Regions from separate parts of the Homo sapiens genome. Here regions 1, 2, 3, 4, 5 and 6 are each linked to region 7. The links are contacts of gene promoters, found by promoter capture Hi-C in blood cells and fetal thymus (Javierre and others, 2016). All regions are on one chromosome and are shown on one strand. The core of a region is centred on a gene start or on the middle of the fragment in contact, and the rest is flanking DNA. Distances in the headings are between cores, read along the strand shown.

Region 1 (3,329 bases), core at 722-3,221, 1.5 Mb after region 7:
CCATGTTGCCATTATGTATAGTTCATCAAGAAAAGAAGTCAGTCTGTCATTTTTCTCAGCATCAACTCTACAGTGTACATATAGCATGGATGATGTTACCAAAATAAAACAAGAAACCAAGGTGAGAAAAAAATAGGGAAATGTTCTTATTTGGAACTACAAAACTTATTTTTCCCCCTACAGATCTGCAGCAAACTGACTGTGAATTAATATTTGGCATTTTTGATAGATTATGAAATAATAATCCAGAGCTCTATGGATTAATAACATCTATATAAAATAATGATACTGGCACTGCTATCAGGCAAGCAATTGATTCAAAGTGAAAACCCTGAGCAGAAATTTTGTGACTACAAATATGGCACAGGTATAGATCTCTAAAATAAGGATATGTTTGAGAAAGTAGATTAGGGAATGAAATTGAGTAGAATAAAATAAAAGTCAAGGTTTTCTGCTGCCTGTAGAAAGACAAAGTCATGCCTGTGAGCTCTCTTTTTAATCTAAGTTAGAAACCACTCCAATAGTTTCAAGCAAAAGGCAAACAGAATACAGGGGCTCCTCAAGCTTTGAAGCCTCTTCGTGTCAGCTGTTTGCCGGGCGGTAATGAGATAAAGAGCTAGAAGAATTACATGGAAAAAAAAAGAAAGAAAAGAAAAAGAAGCAATAGCATGGTGTGAGTTTAGTCCTGCGACAACACAGGCTAGAGGCTTCTTTTAGAAAATGCAATAGCTGCAACATATTCACCTAAGCTAAACTTTTCATTGTACACAGCAATGATGTTAATTTTATGCACTGCAGGCTTTTTATTAAGCTGGCTGCTATAAAAGCTCCTTACCCCTCATGAAAATTATAATAATTAACCACTAACACCTCAACTATGTTTTAAGGCAAATGTCATCCAATAGCTATTATATAATCGTTTATATGAAGCCGGAGCAAGTCTTTCTGTTTAGGTGCTGCATTGATTTGAAGGGATCACTCAGAAGGACTTCCTGTAACTGAAAACACTGGTTTGTCCCTATCAGCTAAACTGGTGCTGAGTTTTCAAGTTAGGCCTCATTCGTTTATAATTCAGTGTATTTCTTTCAATGGTATCTGAAGGAGATGTTTTCTAAAGTAAAGGGGTGAAAAATAAGCCACAGAAGCAAATATTACTTTTAAGAGCAGCTGGTTCTTCCAAATAAATTGGGTCTTTGGTTTTCTGCCCATTCCCAAAATATGCTTAAGTTCACTCTTTAACCTACCATTCCCTTATCTCTTCCCTCTTTTCTTTCTCACTCTTTAAAAATGCTCTCCTGAAAAAGTGTCATGTTTATTTCCCATAGAGTGTCTCAAGTATTATGGTCTTGTTTGAGAGACTGAACACCAACTAAGGACTATCACACGATAGTCATCTGATTTGAAAGAAGGAAGAACAGATAAATCCCTCTGGGGTTTCAAGGCTGAGGAGTTACCACAAGTTGTTTGTATTGAGCTACACAAGGTGGTGATGTGATCATATACAAATACAAATGTTGATAATCTGGTCAACAAAAAATTGTTCCTCCTTGGTCATAAAAAACTGTCACTGACATGGATGGACAAAACCTATTACTTTTAACAATTTGTTTTCCCTGAGATTAAAATATTTGTTTATATCACAACTCCTTTCTTCTATTCTTCCCCTTAGAGTTTACAAGTTTCCATCCTTCAAGAAAAATGGCATGGCTTTCTGCCAAATTATATGCAGAAGTTTAGTGAATCCTGAAACCAAAGTGACATACAAAAGCATGTAAAAACACATGATGCAAGTAGAAAAATAAAGAGAAACGCTCGCCGGGTGCCCGTGTATGACTGAGCATTCAGGTATATGCATGCCACAATATATGTCCTGTTCTCCAGCCAAAAAAATCATGAAGACACCCGAGGGCAAGGAGTGAACATGTTTCTATTCCCAGTGGCTTTGGTAATTGGGAGTCAAATATGGTACTCTTCTTGCTCTTACGTAATTGTGTTACAGAGCAGTGTTACCAGGAGAAAAGCAGTGAATACTGAGTGGAGCACAATAGAAGGAGATGGAAAATAGATACAAGAAGCTAGGTCTCTAGGGGCAGTATTTTCTATTTGCTGGGCTACAGACTCACAGCTGATAATGCAAGTTGTAATTAATATAAAAGCAGGAGACAATATGGGCAGAGCTTGTAGTAGTGGGGCCACAGGAGAGCGCTCTGCTGCTCTACTCTGTTTCTCATTTACACACAGCTTTCCCTAGAAAACACAATTGTGCCAGTGTTTTCTCCCTTGAAAGTTAAAAAAAAAAATTGATTTAGCACTATCATTGAATTTTGCTAAATCTAGAAAAGAGCATAGAGAGGACAGGAGTCTCTGGGCATAGGAAGCAAATCATATGTGTGCCTCTCTTGTTGAAGTTGCAGATACACTGGAATTGTAACATTTTAAACCATTATGGCATTTCCATGAGGGACCTACCTATAAGAGAATACTTAATAAGTCTCGGTGAATTGGTGTTATTTCCCTATTTAAATGATTCCACATGGCACATGGTTCTTCCATGGGGCCAGTGGGGTGAAATGTATAAAGTGTTTGTAAATAAATACAAAACTGAATGGAGAAGTAAAATGTATGAGGCTTCAAGGAGAAAAGCAAAGGCCATGCCACATACAAGTTCTATCTAAAATAATCTGAAACTCATTTTAGATCCCAAATGAAAAGGCAATGCAGTGGACATGGTATAGGAAAGAAAACATTAGATTGGAATTAAGATGCTGGCATGCCACCTCTCACCAGTCAGGTGAACTTAAGCAAGTGATGTACCTCATTTCTATGGGGCTCATTTCCTTTATCTCTTTAAAATTAAGAAGTTAGACCAGATAACTTCTAGAACCTACACAACTATATAACATCAAGAGAAAAATTACATGTAAACTTGGAAAATAGAATAAAGTAACTCAGGGTATGTGCTCATAGGTAGAGAGTAATAGTAAACATACATAAAGATATTTTAATCAGTAAATGAAGCATGTACAACTAATTTGACTCAATATATTTAAACAACAAAGGGAAGATATACTTGTATCAACATACATAATTAAATTACTTATTTCCCATAACTTTATAATGTTTTAACTCCTAATTAACATTATGCAAAAAATATTTTTAAAAATAAAACAAGGACTCCTATCTTGGGGTACTGAAGTCTACAAAAGTTAAAAATGTTAATTGTGTGGTTTGAACAAATGTTGGAATTTCAACTCCGGTGTTGTAAAGTTGACATAAGAAGTCAGGAGACCTATGTGTGCTTTCAGAACCTGGACTCACTCTTTAAAAAT
Region 2 (3,252 bases), core at 162-2,661, 1.6 Mb after region 7:
ACTGCCCTTCCTACTCTCCACCTTGACCCCAAGCAAAGCTATTCACTAGACAACTCTTCGTCAATGGAAAATTCCTTAAGTTTGCTTAATGAGGAGAGAATGTCAGAAGAAAGAAAAAATTTTAATAGTAAAAAATGCCATTCTCTCCTTTTGACTGCCTGACAACTTTGTCTCTACAAGTGTCTCATTCAGGGTTACAAATCAAAATTACATGTCAGGATACAAGCCACAGTATTGGAACAGGAAGAATGAGCACACAGACCACTAGCTTTTCAAAGGCGACTGAGGTCTCTGCAAGGCTCATGTCCTAAATGGAGAGACATCTTATTCAAACATCTCTAAGGGAGAGGGTTGAATCAGATCACTTCTGAGGCTGTTTTTAACCCTAGAAAGACAAAAAGGGACTCCAAGGGCTAAAAAGCCATCAAGAGCTCAGGCTCTGGAGTCTGACGGGAAGGGGCTGAATACTAGGTCTGGCCTGTGCTGATTGTGAACTCTTAGTAGTCACCTGACTCCTCTAAACTCTACTAACCTCATGCATAAACTCAGCATAACAATGGTTGATATTACTGGACACATTTGTCAGCCCCTGCAGGTCCACCCTTTACTTTCCCCCTCCTGGTTTGTGCCCCTGAAGGCTGGTACGGATGGTTTTAGAATGGCCCTTGTTTCCTCTTGGGCTTGCCTAGAGTGGGCAGAGCGAGGTCTGGGTGCTGATTCCCAGGGTCCCTGAGGGCTGGCTGCATTCCAGCCACAGCTCAAGCAGTCTTCTTCCCAGAGTTCCATTTCTGGATTTAGGTAACAATGTCCTTCTCCAGTACTAGCCTTGGGGCAGTGTACTGTCCCTCGTGGTTTCCTAACACCCTGCTCACACCTTTTTAATAAAGTTCCTTTATTAAGCTCTCCTCAAATTACCCAATTTGATGTGTACCATCTGTTTCCTGCTGGACCTTGACTGATACACCTTATAAACGTGTTTAGAGGATTAAAATTAAATGAGATAATGCATGTAAAGCACATAGTGCAGTTCTTTGCATATAGTAAAAGCTTAATAAATAGAGCTTTTATTTATTTTTACAATTATCATTTTGTGCAACCCTTTCATTTTATATAGGAGGAAATGGAAACTCAGAACTGTTAGGAGAAGCATTCAAAGTCTAATTAACTGAAGGTAGTAACAATCCTGGGACCAAATCCCTGAACTGCCTGCTTGAAGTTCATTGTTCTTCCCTCTGCATCTTGTTGAGCAAAACAGATGAGAAAGGAGGGAACTCTTATTTTCATAGATGTTGGAAAAAGGGTTAGACGAGCTAGAGGCAGAGGTGTAGGAGGTAATAAGCATTTTCCATGTATCATTGGGCTTGTCCCTGCTAAATTACTGCTGAAATAAAGGAATGCCATTGCAATTTAGAATCCAGTGATTTCAATAACAATAAAATGGGTATGTAACAGGGGGCGCAATGTATGCTTGACAGGTTAAAAACAAATTTATGAACATATAATTTGAAGTTTTATCAGGAGGCATAATAATGTTTTAAGACTATATAGGGTACACTGAAATTAATTTTTAAATAAAGGCTGATTTTTGGATTAGCAGTGTAGAAGTATGAGCTTTATAATTCTTTAAAATATAATACTCTGCTGTGAACTCATATAGAACCAGAACACTGAATCCTGAGCCAGAGATGTTCTGTAATGTAATAGCATTAATAACTGGATAGAAAATATTCAATCACTAATTCCTACATCCATTCAGTCGTTCAAATAGATATTCATTAAGCTTGCAATATTCTCTAGGTGCTTTTATGAGTGTTGACATATAAAGATTAATTAAATATATTCTCAGCTTCAATGGGTTTTTAGAGGAAAACAGAGGCAGGCGTATAAAAAGATTTTGGTATGAACAAAAGTAGAAATATACCTAGGCTACTATGGGAGACTTAAAGAGATTGAGTGGGGTACGGGGAATTGAGAGTAGAAGAGGCTTTCTTAGGTCAGAACTAAGTCTTTGCAAGAGTCATGTGTTTCATTTCAATTACATTTTAGCCTTCTATATTCTTCCAAATTATCAATGATACTAATGAATTAAGATTTAGCTTTTATTAGTATATACATTAGTAATAAAACCAAAAAAGCACATACAATATTGCATTACTTTTTACTGTAGGAGGTTGGCTGAGGTATATGTGGAAACAGAAACATTTAAATAAATTTTCCCTTGGTGACTAGAGTGTATGATAAGAAAAGTAGAATAAACTTCAAAGGTGATATTATACAGAGACTCACTTGAAAAATGCCATCTTCAGAGATTTCATTCATGTACTTTACCAATTGTGTCTTATTTGTATAATGAATTGGACCAGGCTTATTTGAGATATAGATATACAGTTTGAAAACTAAGTCGGAACGTATTTGTGAAGAAGAAACATGAAGTAGGGCCATTTGTTTTAGGACCTAGGATGCATTCATATACAATTGAACATACTAATAAATAGAACACAATTTAAGCAGGTTATTTGTTTTTACACAGTCTTTACAAAATTGGTTATTTCTCTCTCAACGTTAATTGATGCCTAAGTATAATTTACCATGGTAATGCTGCTAAATATTTGTGAATCTTTGTTGAAGTTCAAACTACAAAATTACATTATCTTGGCTAATTCTCATTCAGGTTGCTCTTGTCCACTTACCCTGATCATCCCCACTTGGTCCACTGTTTTCTTGTCCACCTCATATCCCCAAATCCATTCCCACTCACATTGTGTGTGTGTGTGCACGTGTGTGTGTGTATGCACACGTATATGTCCGTTTTAGCCACCCACATCTATGGCTACAATGTGGAACTGAAAATTACTTTCAACAGCTCAAATGTAGAGATTCAGTTTTTTTAAACCCACTATATTACCCTCTGTTAAATACAAAGGATTCTTTCTTCCTTGTGGCCCTTATTGTGTTTTCTGGTTTCTTGATTATTTTCTGCCAATTCATTAGTCATATCCTGATTTTCTTGATCTTCAACCCACTTTAATAAATGTATTAAACTGTAAACTAATACAATTAATACATGTATCTTTTAATTTGCTTTCCTGTTTTCAAAGTAGTACATATTTACTAAAGACAATGTAGCAGGCCGGGCACAGTGGCTCACGCCTGTAATCCCAGCACTTTAGGAGGCCAAGGCAGGCAGATCACAATGTCAGGAGATCGAGACCATCCTGGCTAACACGGTGAAACCCTGTCTCTACTAAAAAT
Region 3 (3,088 bases), core at 318-2,817, 1.4 Mb before region 7:
GCTATAAATAATTCCCATTTACTTTGGTTACTAGAAGCTTAAAATGTTTATGTAGTTAAAAACATCCATCTTTTCCTTACTGATTTCTTCTAAACTTCCTAGACTTAGAAAACCATCCTATCAAGAGCTGATAATTTCATTTCACAGATCAAAATTAATTTGTTTGAAAAATGAGAAACTACTATTCTGAGGGGGGAAAAAAAGTTTATGTTTCAGGAAAACAAATGGTTCTAAAATGACCAACTGTATCAGAGAATTCCCGATATCATAATAATATATTAAAATAATGCTTCTTAAATCCTCATAGGCTCTTTCATAGTTAAAGGAATAACTGATACTGATGATATCCACAACAGTTACTAAAAAGCAAGATGACGAGACCATCCTGACTAATACGGTGAAACCCTGTCTCTACTAAAAATACAAAAATTAGCTGGGTGTGGTGGCATGCGCGTGTAGTCCCAGCTACTCAGGAGGCTGGGGCAGGAGAATCACTTGAACCTGGGAGGCGGAAGTTGCAATGAGCCGAGATTGTGCCATTGCACTCCAGCCTGGGTGACAGATCGAGACTCCGTCTCAAAAAAAAAAAAAAAAGTAAGATGAAAAAGTGTCACTCCAGAGCACACTAAGCCAGAATTGAAATGTAAAAAAGTTAACTTATGCCTGGCCTGGACATGTTCCATTTGCCCTCTAGATCCACTCTCTACCTTTCTCCTCTTTGCAGACTGGAGGAAGGAAAGAAAATGAGCTTAGTCTATTTTCCCCCCAGACCTCTCACTGACAGGCCACCTCTGACTGGCTGTGTTAAGGGACTGGTTTGTGTCTTTCAATGCAGGCCTTTCTTCCCTTCAAGGTTCCAGTAACCTCTACTCTCCTCTTCCTTCAGGATTAGAGGTGGTGATAATAACCTTGAGGATGTAAGCTCCAGGGTACTGCACAATCTGGCTGTTTCCCAACACCATGACTACACTGTTTGATGCCTTCATTAAATTATCCTTGAATTACTCTAATTTGAGTGCATCTTCTACTTCTTAATGGGACCCTGACTGAACCAATTTCTTTCTTTCTTTTTTTTTTTTTTTTGAGACAGAGTCTCACTCTGTCACCCAGGATGGAGTGCAGTGAGGTGATCTCTGCTCACTGCAACCTCCGCCTCCTGGGTTTAAGTGATTCTCCCGCCTCAGCCTCCCTAGTAGCTGGGATTACAGACTACCGCCAGTATGCCTGGCTGATTTTTTTTTTTTTTTTTTGTATTTTTAGTAGAGATGGGGTTTTTCCATGTTGGCCAGGCTGGTCTCGAACTCCTGACCTCTGGTGATCCGCCTGCCTCGGCCTCCCAAAGTGCTAGGATTACAGGTATGAGCCACCGTACCCAGCCCTGACTCAACCAATTTCAAAACATTTTTTCAGATCCAGAAAAAAACAAACTGATGACAGTGGAACACAAATAATATCAGAAATAATTAAAGAAAAAGCAAATATATTTATCATCCTAAGGTAAATATTTTACTTGAGAAAAATAACATAAAGTTTGCAATACAAAATTTAAAATTCATCCTTAAAAATGTACTCTACAAAATGTAGGCCTTATTGGATCCTGATTTGAAAGAACAATTATATAAAAAATATTTTTGAGAAAACTGAGGAAACATAAAAATGGGACTGTTAGATGATATTAAGGCATGATTATTTTGTTGAATCAATAATGGTAATGTGGTTTTTGTTTAAGTCCTTATTTTTTGGAGATACATAATAATGCTTTTACAAGTAAAATCCTATTATGCTTAGAACCATTTAAAAATATTTCAGAAAAAAATTAATGAGGTACACAAAAGACATGAAACAAAACAGTAGAATGCCATTCTATAAATGTTTGAAAATTTCTATAATAAAAAGTGCAAAAAAGTATAGAATATAATATTACTATGTAAACAAACAAACAAACAAAAACACATGAAAACCACCTGTCCAAAAACAGAGGACTGGTTAAATAAATTATGGCTTATATACATTGTGATGATAGCAAGAAATGGCATGAGGAGTCTTCAGGCCCAATTCCCTTTATCTCCATTAACTAAGTCCTAAGCCACCTCCAATAAGCACAAATGTAAGTCAAAACTGTGTGCTAGTTATGCAAAACAGCTACAATACAAATTACCTACCCCTTTTCCAATAAGATTATCACCATAAACTCCTCATATTAATTCTCCATCAATGTTTCTTTTTTTCCTGAGAGACGGGGTTTTGCTCTGTAGCCCAGGCTGGAACGCAATGGCATGATCACAGCTCACTACAGCCTCAACCGCCTCGGCTCAAGTGATCCTCCCACCTCAGCCTCCTGAGTAGCTTGGACTACAGGTGCACACCACCACTCCTGGCTAATTATTTATTTTTTGTAGAAATGGGGTCCCACTATGTTGCCCCAGCTGGTCTGAAACTCCTGGGCTCAAGCGATCCTTCCACCTCAGCCTCCCAAAGTAAGATTACAGGTATGAGCCACCGCGCCTGGAAATTCTCCATCAACCTTTCTACATACAAATAAAGAACATGAAATGGTATCAAAAGCTGTTCAAAAATATTAAGTGAAAAAGGCAGGATACAAACTACTACATGTTGTATTTTACTAGTAAAAACCTAAGTCATATGATTCCAAAAGAAGCTGGAAAAATGGTAGGCACCGTGGCTCACGCCTATAATCCCAAAAATGTGACAGGCTGAGGCAGAAATATCACTTGAGGCCAGGAGTTTGAGACCACACTGGGCAACATAGCAAGACCCTGTCTCTACAAAAAATTAAAAAATTAGCTGGACATGATGGTGTCCGCCTGTAGTCCTATCTACTGAGGAGGCTGAGACAGGAGGATCACTTGAGTACAGAAGTTCGAAGCTGCCATGAACTATGATCTCGCCACTGCACTCCAGGCTGAGTAACAGAAAAAGACCTTGTCTCAAAAAAATAAAAAGAAAGATACAATGAAACATTAAGGGTTGTTTTCCTACTTTGTTTCTAATATACTATTTTTAAACAGAAATTAAATGCTTTTTAAAAGAACTGTATACAGAAGAGTGGCCAAATGGTCAATTAAGG
Region 4 (2,991 bases), core at 258-2,757, 1.6 Mb after region 7:
AAAAAAAAAAAAAAAAAAACCCACAGTAGATGTATATTTGTAAACTGGAATCTTAACTATGGTTAGACACTAAGAAAACATTTAAAATATAACTGTAAGGGAGAAAAAGCTTTGTTTGATGCTAGAACATAATTAGACGTTTTAGGGTTTTATTTTAATTTAAATTCAACTTGAGTTTTTGGAATGAAAATGCCAATGAGACACTAAGAACTTTTATTAAAAAAGATGGCCAAAAAGTCGAATTGGAAAAGATAGAAATATGAAAATATTCCTGTGCATTTATAATGGCTGACATTGCTATATCATGTCATTGGTCTGCTGAACGATATTCCTGTAAACTATGATCAAAATCGTCATGATTTCTAGCACATTTATTTAATGTTTATTCTATCCAAGTCTCTGCTGAGAGCCACAGGAGACGAATAAGACAGGGCCTATGGCTTCAAGAAACTTAGAACTGTATTGTAGAGCTAGGATTTAGGTACATAGAAAAGTAAGCATAACAAAGGGAAGATTACAACGGATGCCAAGTTTGTATTCACACAGGAATTCAGAGAAAGAAGCGGAGTCTCTGCTCAAGAAGGTTTGATGGAGAAAATAGAATTTGCTCAAGTCTTTTGTTAAGATTTTGATAAGAAAGCTAAAAATTAAAAAATAAAATGCTCCAACATTGAGAAGTAATTGAAGTTGCCTTTACTGTGTTTGTGAATGTATTTTGTGGGATATGTTTGAGGGGAATATGTTTGGGAAGTAGTTTTTCAATACAAGAACAGACATTAGTGAGCTTTGTGAATGTTGTACTTTATTACATACCGGAAAAGAAATAAGATGAAACACATTTTCAGTCAAATAACGTAATATAATATGAAAAGTATTGCTTGTTGTCAGCCTGATAATCAGAATATATTTTAACTTTTTTTTAAAAAAGCTAATAACTATAAAACACCAAGATAAATTTTCCTTGAACATTCAGTGATTCACTGGATGAGTCATACATTTTAAAAATTTCTGCTATTTTCAGTGTACCTTGAAAATTTTCCATATTGTAAACTATGTTTTCTTACATGCCTATAAGAAACAAAAACCATGTTTGGAAATCCAGTGTCTACTTGAATCTGGAATATTAATGCAATGTGGGTTTATATGGTCTGAAAGTCTTGTATATTTATGCCATGTGAGTTGATTAGTATCTAAACTTTGAAAAATATTCAGGGTAGAAAAATTATAAATTATTTGTCATGTCAGAGTTTAAAAGGTTTGTAGAAAGACCTGGGTATTTTGTAGCACACAAGATGTGATATGCCTTGGGTGTGACTTCCCTGGTTGTGTTTTGAAAGCAACCTCTACTTTAATAAGACAGTTGTGAATCAACAGTCAAACTAATTTTTGATTACTGGTAAGTGAACATTTAAAACTGGAGCCCCACTTTTAGACGTGGTGGTGAGATTATATTGGTCTCCATTCATATCTAGAAGCACCTCAGTCTGATGGTTTATTCTATACGCAAGGCATTACCACATACAAGTCTCCTTGCTTAACTCTTGTATTATTCACAAGAATGCCAGAGCAGACATATTAATACTAGTCTGCAACTGGCATTATTCCACATACTCAAGAGTTTTCATTCTGGGATAAGCACCATTCACTGAAGGCAAAAAGTAGCATAAGTGAAAGAAAATCACATTGCCTGTTGCATTTTCCTTTTTTGATGACTAAATGCATCCAAACTATGGATCAGCAAACCTTTACTGAATGCTGATTAAATAGTATGATATAAACTATTCATGCTATAGACATGTGCTGTACAGTATGGCTCCCACTAGACACATTGCTATTGAGTCCTTGAAATGTGATTATTGTGAATTTAAAGTGTTGTAAGTGTAAAGTATACACACAGTGTTCAGATACTTAGTATGGAATGGGAACGTAAAATATCTCATTAGTAATTTAAAAATGTTGATTACATGTTGAAATAATATTTTGGATATATTGGGTTAGATAAAACTATTAATGAGATCGATTTGACTTGGCTTTAATTTTTTAACCTGGCTACATAAAATTAAAAATTACAGATGCGGCTCACATTCTATTTCTTTTGGATAGTGTTGCTATAGACCTTCAGAGAATGGACCCAGAAACAAGTGCTGAAAAATACGAAATACTAGAAAAACAGATGAGGTCTCAGCTGAGTCTTGAATGACATAAAGGCTTTGAATTAGAAAATGAGAGAAGGCTAAGTGTGTTTTTGGATAGGAGATTAAGATAAATAAACTGGTGTAGAATTGTAGGTGTTAGAAACCAAAGGTTTACTTTAAGTAATAGTGCAGAGTATTTGGTTATCTTATAAAGGGTGACAAATTCTGAGCACTTACTACCTTAATAAACATAGTTATCTACTATTGAGTCCTTAGAATATGAAGTTTGCATACATAAATTTTCATTTAAACTCTACAACAATCATATAAGGCAAGGTTTATCGTATCAATTTTATTTTATTTTATTTTATTTTTGAGATGGAGTCTTGCTCTGTCTCCCAGGCTGGAGTGCAGTGGCACAATCTTGGCTAACTGCAGCCTCTGTCTCTCAGGTTCAAGTGATTCTCCTGCCTCAGCCTCCCGAGTAGCTGGGATTACAGGTACCCACCACCACGCCCAGCCAGTTTTTTTGTATTTTTGGGAGAGACGGGGTTTTGCTATGTTGGCCAGGCTGGTCTCAAACTCTTGACCTCAGGTGATCCACCTGCCTTGGCCTCCCAAAGTGCTGGGATTACAGGCCTGAGCCACCGCACCTGGCCAAGTTTTATCATATCCATTTTATAAGTGAGGACACTGAGGCTTAGATAGGCTTCCTGAATTACTGAATATCATACAAGTAGGAAGGGACTGAAACCTTGAGTGTCTAACCTCAAAGCTTGTGGTTTTAACCACAGCATTGGAGACAGGTTCACCATGAAGCTAATGGAGCTTTACACTTCCCCCACACTTGTATGTA
Region 5 (3,410 bases), core at 903-3,402, 1.5 Mb before region 7:
GTGTTGATATTGAAAATATGTAAGTGAAATAGTGGTCAGTGAGAAAAGCAACTTAAAAACAGAATATGTTAACAAGGATAAGGATGCCAAAATAATTACAGTGTGTGTGCAATGGTTTGCAGCAGGAGGAGAGGTCAATTTCATGGATTACCAAGAACTAATCTTAAAGCAATCTTCTGTTGGGACACTTAAGCACATTCAGTTTCTAACCAAATTTGCTTCAGGCTTTCTGGAAAAAAAGGAAAATAAAGTCTAGAGGCTGTCATTTCAGTTTGAGCTTTTAACAGGCTCTCAGTCTCTAGCTGGCTGACAAGCGGCTGGTGGCTACTCTGAGCAACAATGAAGGAGCAAGTCCTTAGACACCTGCCTGTAACTGATCTGACACCATTTCTTCCCTCCAGGTTCACACTAAACTTGAATAGAAAATTAGAGATTTCCTTTTTACCCAGTGAAATGAAAATGTCAACGCCATCGGGTATTAATTACTACTCAGGCTTTGTTTACAAAGCAAAAGTTTGATCAGAATTAAATGCCTCCAGATTCTACTTTTTAGTACAACTATAAACAGCTGTCTCATCTTTTATTGAATATAAATCATTTTAAAAGGAATATGAAAAGCTGCAATATAAACATGGAGCAAGAAAGCAAAGGTCTGGTAACACCCACAATAACTGAAGATGGTACCAATGTTACCTTAAAACCTTATAACCATACTAACATATCAGTTAAAAAAATAATCAGGCATGTGAAAGAATCACTCAACAGTCCTCCACACACCCCTTTTTCAAATCTCAAAGTCATTCCAGGAGCAGTTTAGAGCAGCAGTCGAAAGAACAGGCTCTGGAGTGAAAATGCTGGGGTGGAATCCAGGCTCAGCAATTTTCTGGTTGAGTGATATTAAAAAGTTATTTCACCTCTCCTAACTGTGAGTTATTTAACGGTGCCTCAGCTGTCTCATCTTATATTAAGTACTCGACAAATGTGAATTACTGTTATTACTAGAGGAAGGAAAAAAGAAAAAAAATTCCAAAGACTACCAGCTGGCCTTGTCTTCCTCTCTGCTAACAGCCCATCACAAAGATAAATACTAAACAATCCTAGTATTGGGGGCAGTGATAGGGGGATTATTTATTCATTTAGTTAGTAAGTTAGTTATTTGAGACAGAGTCTCACTCTATTGCCCAGGCTGGAGTGCAGTGGCAGGATCACAGCTCACTGCAGCCTCCACCTCCGGGGCTCAAAACAATCCGGCTGCTTCAGCCTCCCTTGTAGCAGGGACTACAGATGCACCCCGCCATGCTCGGCAGTTTTGTATTTTTTTTATAGAGAGGGGGTCTCGTTATGTTGCCCAGTCTGGTCTCGAACTCCCAGACTCAAGTGACCCACCCACCTCAGCCTCCCAAAGTGCTGGGATTACAAGCGCGAGCCACCACACCCAGCCAGTTTTGTGTTTTTTTTTTAAAGTTAATGATTGTATCTAGTACAATAATGCTTCTAGTGAGTATTCCGTGAAGATAATTATGCTCACCCATAATCAGTAAGCTTAGAGCTCAGACCATTTACAGAAGGAATGATTTAAGAGCAAGAGACTAAGAGATGTACTCAACTTAGTACTCAACTAAGTTACCCTGGAGTATTACATAGCTATGTAGAAGTTGGTTAGATTGATTTTGTTTTCCATTTGTATGCAGTGGTCCAAAATAGAAAGCAAAGGTGTACACAAAATTGGTTTCTGAAGGTGGACAACTGGTCTTTACATGGCTAGGAGTCTATTATGATTTTTTTTTCCTTTGATCATTTCGGTTACTCTCTCCTTGGGGCACAAATGCACCATGGGATATGAGAACAAGAAGGCTTCAGGAAAGTCAATCAATCTTGTCTCATGTAATGGTTAAGCACCAAAAATGGTGTCCTAGCAAGACTAAATACAAACAGTACTTCAGAATCTGAGAAATGGAAGGAACTTAGAGATGACCAATCCAAACCAAAATTAAGGAACAATCTGCCCAACATCCCTCCCTCCAGCTTTGGCTGAAAACATGATGATGAAGGGATAAGACCAACTCGACAAAAGAAAAAGCCTAAAATTTTAACAGAATGTGTTACAATACTATCTTAAATTTTTTAAAGTCTTGTATTATTCTTTCTTTTAATGATATACCATCATGACCAGGCGCAGTGGGTCACACCTGTAATCCATATCCCAGCACCTTGGGAGGCCGAGGCGGGTGGATCACCTGAGGTCAGGAGTTCGAGACCAGCCTGACCAACATGGTGAAACCCCATCTCTATTAAAAATACAAAATTAGCCGGGCAAGGTGGCTCATGCCTGTAATCCCAGCTACTTGGGAGGCTGAGGCAGGAGAATCACTTGAACCCGGGAGGCGGAGGTTGCAGCAAGCCAAGATCATGCCATTGCACTCCAGCCTGGGCAACAAGAGTAAAACTCCGTCTCAAAAAAAAAAAAAAAATATATACCATCATTTCACCCAATTTAATTCAACAGAGATTAACAAAACAGAAGCACCTTCACTCACTCAATTCAACTTAAAGACACTTATTAGTAAAGTCCTGTGCGCCAGACACCATAGTTAACACCAAATGTACCATTACTACAATTACTCTTAAAGCACGATCCCTGCAGCTAAGGAATATCTACTTTGTTCTCAATAAAGTGGTAACTGGTTCACGAAAAAGTAAGAGATAAAATACTGTTGACTCAAGGGCAGCTTGATATAAATCCCAGCTCTGCCACTAGCTGTGAAAGCTTAGGCAAGTCAGTTAACCTGTAAAAATAAAGATTACTCTCTATATATGGATATATAAATAATATATAACATTGTAGTTAATATATAATTACATACTATTATATTACATAATTCTACATTACATATATATTATATATATATAATAGAGTTATAAGAACAAAATGTGATATATAGTGGGCACTAGGTTGGTCTTAGTTTCTGTCATTTACCTTAGTTTCTGTCAGTTTACACGAGGTAAACTGACCCTAAAAATGTTTTTATATCTCATTCAAGTTTTGCCTATTACCTATCTTAATCCTAACAAGATTTAAGTTTGTTACATTTAAATTTAAGTTTTATACTTTTTTTTCCAGCTCTGTATTGCTGTATACAACTACTCTCTTTAGGGATATCTTATCTGCTATGCCCTCAAGATATTGTAAATACTTCAGTAAGAGCAAATTTTGCCTCATGCAAAAAAGAATTTTTTAAATCAGTGTGCATAAGAATGCAGAATATAAAGATGGTCTTGTCCTACAGATGTTAAGGTAACAGAACAACTCATAAAAAGACAGTCCTCTAACTCCTTTAGCTGAGATATGGTTAGCTTTGCCCCCATATATATCATCCCCTGCTCCAATCTCCAAAAACTTCCTTCTATGA
Region 6 (3,432 bases), core at 389-2,888, 1.3 Mb after region 7:
ACAGGATGACTAACCCATAACATGTTCCAGAAAAATACGAAATGACATGTTGAAGAGCATTTAAATTGAACAAAACAGATTTGTGTGTGTGCCACTATTGATATACAAATGTTGAATGTGTTTTACTGTATCTACTGAATGTGATTGATAGGAGAGGCATCAATTTCAAGGTTTGTGAATTTAAGTAAATTGTTGTCAGTGGTATAGCTTCTTAAAAAAATTATATCTTTACAGTGAACAGACAAATTGAGACAGGATATACATAAAGCATCAATTTAGCACAAATATCCACTTACAATTGTGAAATATATATATATATGTAGTTGGGAGTTTTTCAGAAAATTTGAGGAGCATTTTTTAAATTGCTTATGCTTTTTAGAATGCTTAGCATTTCTGTTTTGAAAACAACTTGTCTTCCTTTTCAAAATGTATGTGCGAAGCTGGCTCTGATGTCAGAATGAACCATTTTCACAGGATTGGGTCAGCTCCCACTCAACATTTCTTTTACAGAAAAGAAGCCGGTGATGAGGCAGTATTTGAGCTCGTTAAATCTCAAACCCCCAGCGTCTTTTCCAAAGCACTACAAAACTCTTACATGTATAATCACGAGGAGGAAAAGAAGAGAATATAGTTTGTCTTTAACTAAATTATTAAATCCTTGTTTTGACCCTTTCCTTTCTACCTTGATGCTTTCTGCCTCCACCTTTCATTTAAATTTCCTCACTTTGGGATGAAAAAGCATGAGTAAGTGTGGTGCATAAAAAGGAAAACAAGCAAATAAATAGAAAACTTGTCTTTTCATCTCTCCCATTGCTGCTTTCTTTTCCCTCTCATTTCTCTCTGCATCGAACTTCAATTGTGTCTATTTAAATCCTTCCTATACCCAGGATATTTTAGGTTTCCAATATTTTTAAACGGAATAAAAATAGTTTAAAAAATGTTAAATGCATGTCACAAATATTTTACAGAAAAACTTGCTTTGAAACATAAGTGAATATCAAGTCGGGAAAATAAAAGTTTTCTTCACAAAATCTATAAGTGTCTTCCTTCACTTTAAAAGGTTTTTAAAGCTTATGAAGGAAGCCACTGGAAGCAAGTTCATGTTTAGCAAGACTAGCCAAAAAAAGAAAAAGAAAAGAAAAAGAAAGAAAATAAACTGATTTAATGGGAGCCCACCCTGGGTCTAATTTCAAAGTTTCCATTTATGTCATGTCAGATTTGGGGAGACTGAACCCTCATTGAATGCACTGGGCTGACTCTCTCCCATGCCTGATACCCAGGGTTCATGACTGCAGTTCCTGGCACAGTCATAAATATTCATACCTAGACTAATAATTTGCAAGCCAAATTCATTTGGCTTTTTTCACCTCATCAATCTTATAATTAATAAGGGTGGTGCTCTTGTTTCACTTTCCTCCAAAAGAAAAGATAAATGAAATAAAGAGTCATCCTGTAAATTTAAATAGGAGTGCCTCTCACTGATTAAAAGCTGATGCTATCATATAATGGTGGAAGGGGAGGCTTCAGCTATTTCTCTCACTGGTGGCTGGGGCGAGGTGAGGAGGTGGTGATGGGTAATGCAAAGGAAGCATTTCCAGATGTGGCAGCATGAGCCTTAATCTGAAGAGTTTGGTTATCTATTAAATAATGCATAGGAGAACGTTGAGATATTATGTTAGAAAAGAGTTGTAGGATATATATTTACAAATTGCACTCTTACCTAGTATTTTGATAGATGGACACTTAATGTAGCTGGACATTGAATGTAGCATGCCAATATCCAGAGAATTGGATTCTGAACAGCCTGCAGTTTCTGCCTGCAGTTTAGAAATTTAGACATATTTTAGAAAATTGTTAAAATTTGCTGATCTTTGAGTCTTCAAAGTAACTGCCTTTGAATTAGTATGATAGCTGTGTTCCTAAATCTAATTGGAAAGACATGGTTTCCTCAAAAACATTAAAGGAGGTATATATATATCACAAAATAATTTTACAAATAAATCACAGTACATACGACACAATGTAAATTGTCTGCTCCTATTGGATTTTCTAAGATCTTTTATAGCAAAGCAGGAGAATCAAATTGAACATAATTTTGAAATAAAAGTTTGATAATTGAGTTAAGCAGCTTGATCTTGTCAATCACCTGTGACCTTAATCTATTTACACTTCATTTAAACATTCAAAAAGTCCCAAGGCTCATGGATAAGCTTCAAAGTATGAACAACGGTCTTCACTCTGTTTTGGTGGGCAATATCAACCCTTTTGAGCAGATTATTTAATCTGTTTTAAAATTAAGAGACCTGGATAAATAAAGAAGCAGGAAAAGCTTAACTCTGCAGTTAGGTATTCACTTCTAACTTCTTTGAGGGTAACTTACTTTAAAGATGTGATTATCTGTTATTTTTGTGTATTGGTTAGTTAGCTTTAAGAACTGTTGATACTTGAGCTATTCCTGAGACCCACCTAATTTATGTAAAGGCAATGGAAGGGGATACTGGGCACTCTTCATATTCTTTATCTTTAAAGCTTGTATTTAATTGTTTCATTCTTTAAAAACCGACTGTGTTCAGGGCAGTCCCTCTTTAAACATGTCTAAGTGCATTTGCACAAAAGATATATTTTACTTCTTAATTCTATGTGAATGCAATTACACATGTGATTTACTGCAAAAAAAAAAAAAAAAAAAAGAAAAGAAAAGAAAAGAAAGAAAGAAAGAAAGAAGGAAAAAGAAAAACTGCTTTCCTCCGCTGACCTTTAAAAGAGGAGGGTAAATGAGAGAGAGAGAAGCAATACTGACTGACTGGGCCTCCTAGTGTTTCCCCGACCTGGTCTAGTCAGCGGCTTCCGGGATGAGAATGGTCTGAGATCCTAGAGGCCGTGGTGATCTGGGTAAGTGGCACAGGTGGGGACCCCAAGGCGCCTTTACAAGGAGTTCTCAGCTGGTGGGGGAGCTCCGTCCAGGTTTCTTGTAGAGGTGTGGAGGGGGCTAAGAGGGAACTATCTTGTCCTCACCCTCTGTCGAACCCTTCTCAACTTTGCTTGGCTGAGGGGGATCATCTTGGAAAACTCACGGTTAGGTAATAAAGTCTCTTTCCTCTCCTACTACTTTTCAAAAGCAAAATTAGACCCACTTAGAGCTTGTGGGTGTTTCTGGGTCCTTGCTATTGATCTCCCGGGTCACCAAAACAACTCAGCAGCTCCTGCAGGTGTGTCCTCCGAAGGCATGGGAAGAGAGATCTAGGAATGGCAGAGGCGCAGTGGGAGAGAAAGAGAGAGAGGGGAGAGGGGAGAGAGGAGAGAGACTGGCTCTGTCACCCTTTCTCCTGCATTCTAAATCTGGCTTGAGAGAGAGGAGAGAGAGAGGACAGAGGAGAGAGACTGGCTCTGACAGTCACTCGTTCTCCTGCATTCCAAATCTGCTTTTGGAGC
Region 7 (3,154 bases), core at 479-2,978:
CACATGTATACCTATGTAAAAAAACTGCACGTTCTGCACATGTAACCCAGAACTTAAAGTATAATAAAAAAAAAATTTAAAAAAGGAAAATAATCTTCTTAGAAAGATATGTAAGAATCCCAGTTTCACTTATTCACTTATAATACATAATTATATATAATGCATATATATAGAATACATAGGCATCTGTATCATAAGCATACAGGTAAATGCTTACGTATTCATACTTACAGCATATGTCCTTACAGCTCTTACGCTTCAGCAAGAATTTTCCAACATTGCTTTTTTAGCAAACTTTTTTTATTATAAAGCAACATATGCACATTACAGGTTATTTAGTGTAACTGACTCTACCAATCTTCTCTCCTCCCCTCCAATACTTCTAAGTCTTTGTTTGTTGTGCTTTACTTTAATCGTTAAACTTTTGGCAAGCGATGTAAATTTGAATTATTCACTTCCTGGGGTACTTTTAATTCTTAAAATAAGACACAATGGTTAAAGCTTAATCATTTATGTTACAGAGGACATTTACTGAACAACAATAATTATTGTGACATTATGGTCTAGTCTCCTAAAAATGACATTGAAGGAAAGGGAACCGGAATATTCCAGACACTACAGTAGGTCTGAAATCTCATATCAAGTCCTTAATAGGTCAAAACTTACAGCCAGTATCAATTACCTAAGGGACTTAACGAAAACGTTTATGAAATCTTCAATTGGATTACAAAAGCAAGCACATCGTTGCACTGTATCTAAGACACTCTACAGGGCAAAATCTCATGAAACAAGTATTTAAGTAGTCTAACTTTTTAATGTTGCTAGTGTGTTCCCTTCTGCCTCAGTTTATAGATTGAGTATGGAAATATTTAAGCAGGTTTGTTTTTGGTTTGTCAGTCACAGGACTTATTTAGACACTTAAATTTATGATTTGGTTACTACAGACATCAAACTCCTTTTGGAATACGGAGTATAGGGTAAGGTCACTCTAAAGCAATGATGAGAGTCCGAAGCAACAGCAACTGGATCTAGCATAAGACTAGTACAATTCGGTCTCTACCACGAAGAGAGATCTCTGTACTTGAGTGCCCAAAGGCAGAAACACACACATGCCATAAGCAATCCACATCTGTGAAGATGAGGGAGGGGTGGACTTCTTGGGATGGGCGGAAACACTTACAACTAGGGAGGAAGCCAGGCTGCGGCGGACCCAGCTGACCAAAGGAACTACAGAAGAGGACGAAGAAAGCGAGGGGGAAAGGGCGAGGGTTATTAACTGAGTTGATGGAATAAGGTAGTGGCTCCAAACTTCACGGCTCATTAGAGCTTGAAAAAAAAAAATCAGACGCCGGGTCGCACAGAAGTAATTAAACCAATCCCTCTGGCGGTGGGGCCCAGGCGTCGGTACTTTTTTTAATTTCCCACTTGAATCCAATGGGAATCCAAGTTTAAGGGCTAGAAGACCAGAGAGCGACAGACAGGGAGGAGGCGCGCCAGCCAGGGGCCGAGGCACATGCGGGCCGGCAACAGCGAAGGCTCCGCCTCTTCCTGTGGCTCGGAGGAGCCGCGGAACCCCCAACGCGCGACTCAGACGGAGACACCCACTCTTTCGGCGCTAGCGGCGGCTGGAAGGGACGAGAGCCTGGCCTAGGAGGAAGGAGGCGGCTCCAGGACCGCATTACCTGATCAGAGCCGCGACCCTCATGCTGGGCGCAGTGCGCGTGCGTGCGGCGAGCGCGGGCGGGAGCCAGGAGGTCGCGCCGCAGCTCGCGTGACGCACCGCGGGGCCTCGCCCGGGTGTTCGCTCCGCCGCCTGTCCGCGGATCGGCGCTGCGAGCCCCGCGGCTGCCTGCGGGACACCTGAGCGCGGAGGGTGCGGCACCTTGGCACCTTGACCCTGTGGCAGGGACATCTCGGCCCAGGAAAGAATGAGGTTTAGGCACGGCCTAACCACCTAAGTGAGGGCACTGAAGCTGCCGGGGGAAGGGCAAGGTCCGCGTTGCAGAGCCCAAGCCCAGTGGCGCAGGATTTGTTTTGGTAAGAGGGGATTTAGCGTCCCAATTGCTGCAAATTGACACAGTTGCGGACGTGCAAGCGCAGAAGAAATTTGTCCTTCCTCACCCCACAGAACAGAAACAACTGTACACTTCTGCTTTTTAACTTACATCTCCTCTGTCCTCCAAACCTGTGTGTCCAGATGTGAAACTCAGATCCCCAGGGGCTGTGGTAATTTTTAAATCTGGGGCTAGCCCCCCCCACCTCTAGGCCCTCTGTGGCTTTGGCTCTTGGTCAAGCTTGTGTATTTGACAAGGCCAGGCCAGGCTCTTCACCAAAGAGCAATGGCCTTGCAGAAAGAAAATCTAGCTTCTAAGTTTATTTGCCAAGTATGTATTGAGTGCCTTTCGTGTACCAGGCACTGTTTTAGACTCTGTGGATACAACCGTAAATAAAACAAAAACCCGGCATTCCGGGCATAGAGCTTAAATGGGGATGGAGAGAACAGACAATACATATCTTAAAGGTAAATAGTCTGTTGAAGAGTGAAAAGTGCTATTGGAAAGGGGCGGGGTGCGGTGGGGGAGAGTCAGGAGAGAGGTGGAGAGGCAAATTGCAGAATTAAATCGTGTCTATGTAGGCCTTATTGGTAAGATGAGAGTTGAGCCAATTTAAATAAGGAGAGTTCGCTATGTGTATGATTGGGGTGTGCTCCAGACAAGAAAAAAAAATCGAAGGCTCTAGGTGCGTTGTGTGTTTGTGGAAGATTAAGGCAGATCCGTGTTGCTGGAGCAGATTGAGCAAAGCAGAGAGTAGTGGAGAGCAGGTTAAGGTGATGGAGGGGAAGGATTATATAGGGTCTTGTAGGTAATTGCAGACTTTTGAAGGGTGTGACTTAAAATTTTAAAAGGATTGCAGTGTTGAGAATCCACCTATTAGGAAGCTGTTACAGTGTTCCAGTAGAGAGATGGCGGAGCCTAGAATCAACATGGTGAATTTGGTGAGAAGTAAGAGGATTCCAGCTCTATTTTGAAGATAGAGCCAATAGAATCAAATTCGATATGGGATACAAGAGAAAGAAAGTCATGAGGGATGATGCCAAAGGCATGAATTAAGTAAGTTAATATATGTAGGGAACTTAAAATTATGCCAGGTACAT

Evidence for each region. Contacts are between HindIII fragments. The CHiCAGO score rates a contact against its expected background, and 5 or more counts as called.
Region 1: a contact is called between a fragment that was not itself captured here and the fragment with the promoter of DPH6 in region 7, in 1 of 17 cell types (fetal thymus). The highest score is 5.3, in fetal thymus.
Region 2: a contact is called between a fragment that was not itself captured here and the fragment with the promoter of DPH6 in region 7, in 4 of 17 cell types (fetal thymus, naive CD8 T cells, M1 macrophages and 1 more). The highest score is 7.8, in fetal thymus.
Region 3: a fragment that was not itself captured here is called in contact with the fragment with the promoter of DPH6 in region 7 in 1 of 17 cell types (total CD8 T cells); the score reaches 8.7 in total CD8 T cells.
Region 4: a fragment that was not itself captured here is called in contact with the fragment with the promoter of DPH6 in region 7 in 2 of 17 cell types (M2 macrophages and M1 macrophages); the score reaches 7.3 in M2 macrophages.
Region 5: a contact is called between a fragment that was not itself captured here and the fragment with the promoter of DPH6 in region 7, in 1 of 17 cell types (non-activated CD4 T cells). The highest score is 8.6, in non-activated CD4 T cells.
Region 6: a contact is called between a fragment that was not itself captured here and the fragment with the promoter of DPH6 in region 7, in 1 of 17 cell types (fetal thymus). The highest score is 9.3, in fetal thymus.

The regions. Positions count from the first base shown.
Region 1 is chr15:37,085,311-37,088,639 of GRCh38, forward strand. The region is part of intron 6 of MEIS2 (Meis homeobox 2); the gene reads right to left. Among named protein-coding and RNA genes, the nearest start is that of MEIS2, 14 kb to the right of the region's middle. The HindIII fragment of the contact is 2,819 bases long and covers 563-3,329 here.
Region 2 is chr15:37,112,965-37,116,216 of GRCh38, forward strand. No RefSeq gene overlaps it. Among named protein-coding and RNA genes, the nearest start is that of MEIS2, 14 kb to the left of the region's middle. The HindIII fragment of the contact is 733 bases long and covers 1,046-1,778 here.
Region 3 is chr15:34,097,391-34,100,478 of GRCh38, forward strand. All of the region lies in intron 1 of EMC7 (ER membrane protein complex subunit 7), which reads right to left. Among named protein-coding and RNA genes, the nearest start is that of EMC7, 2.9 kb to the right of the region's middle. The HindIII fragment of the contact is 3,064 bases long and covers 36-3,088 here.
Region 4 is chr15:37,135,869-37,138,859 of GRCh38, forward strand. No RefSeq gene overlaps it. Among named protein-coding and RNA genes, the nearest start is that of MEIS2, 37 kb to the left of the region's middle. The HindIII fragment of the contact is 2,801 bases long and covers 108-2,908 here.
Region 5 is chr15:34,034,655-34,038,064 of GRCh38, forward strand. The region is part of intron 1 of AVEN (apoptosis and caspase activation inhibitor); the gene reads right to left. The region is part of intron 1 of CHRM5 (cholinergic receptor muscarinic 5); the gene reads left to right. Among named protein-coding and RNA genes, the nearest start is that of AVEN, 2.8 kb to the right of the region's middle. The HindIII fragment of the contact is 1,225 bases long and covers 1,541-2,765 here.
Region 6 is chr15:36,874,640-36,878,071 of GRCh38, forward strand. It overlaps LOC145845 (a long non-coding RNA gene), which reads right to left. Exons shown (of 7, transcript NR_024264.1): 5 at 1,721-1,817. Among named protein-coding and RNA genes, the nearest start is that of MIR8063, 97 kb to the right of the region's middle. RefSeq lists an enhancer at 3,035-3,432. The HindIII fragment of the contact is 1,140 bases long and covers 1,069-2,208 here.
Region 7 is chr15:35,544,437-35,547,590 of GRCh38, forward strand. It overlaps DPH6 (diphthamine biosynthesis 6), which reads right to left and starts at 1,729. Exons shown (of 9, transcript NM_080650.4): 1 at 1,683-1,729. The coding sequence starts at 1,705. It overlaps DPH6-DT (DPH6 divergent transcript), which reads left to right and starts at 1,759. Exons shown (of 3, transcript NR_038251.1): 1 at 1,759-2,037. RefSeq lists an enhancer at 730-1,664 and silencers at 1,712-1,851, 2,152-2,201. The HindIII fragment of the contact is 1,793 bases long and covers 500-2,292 here.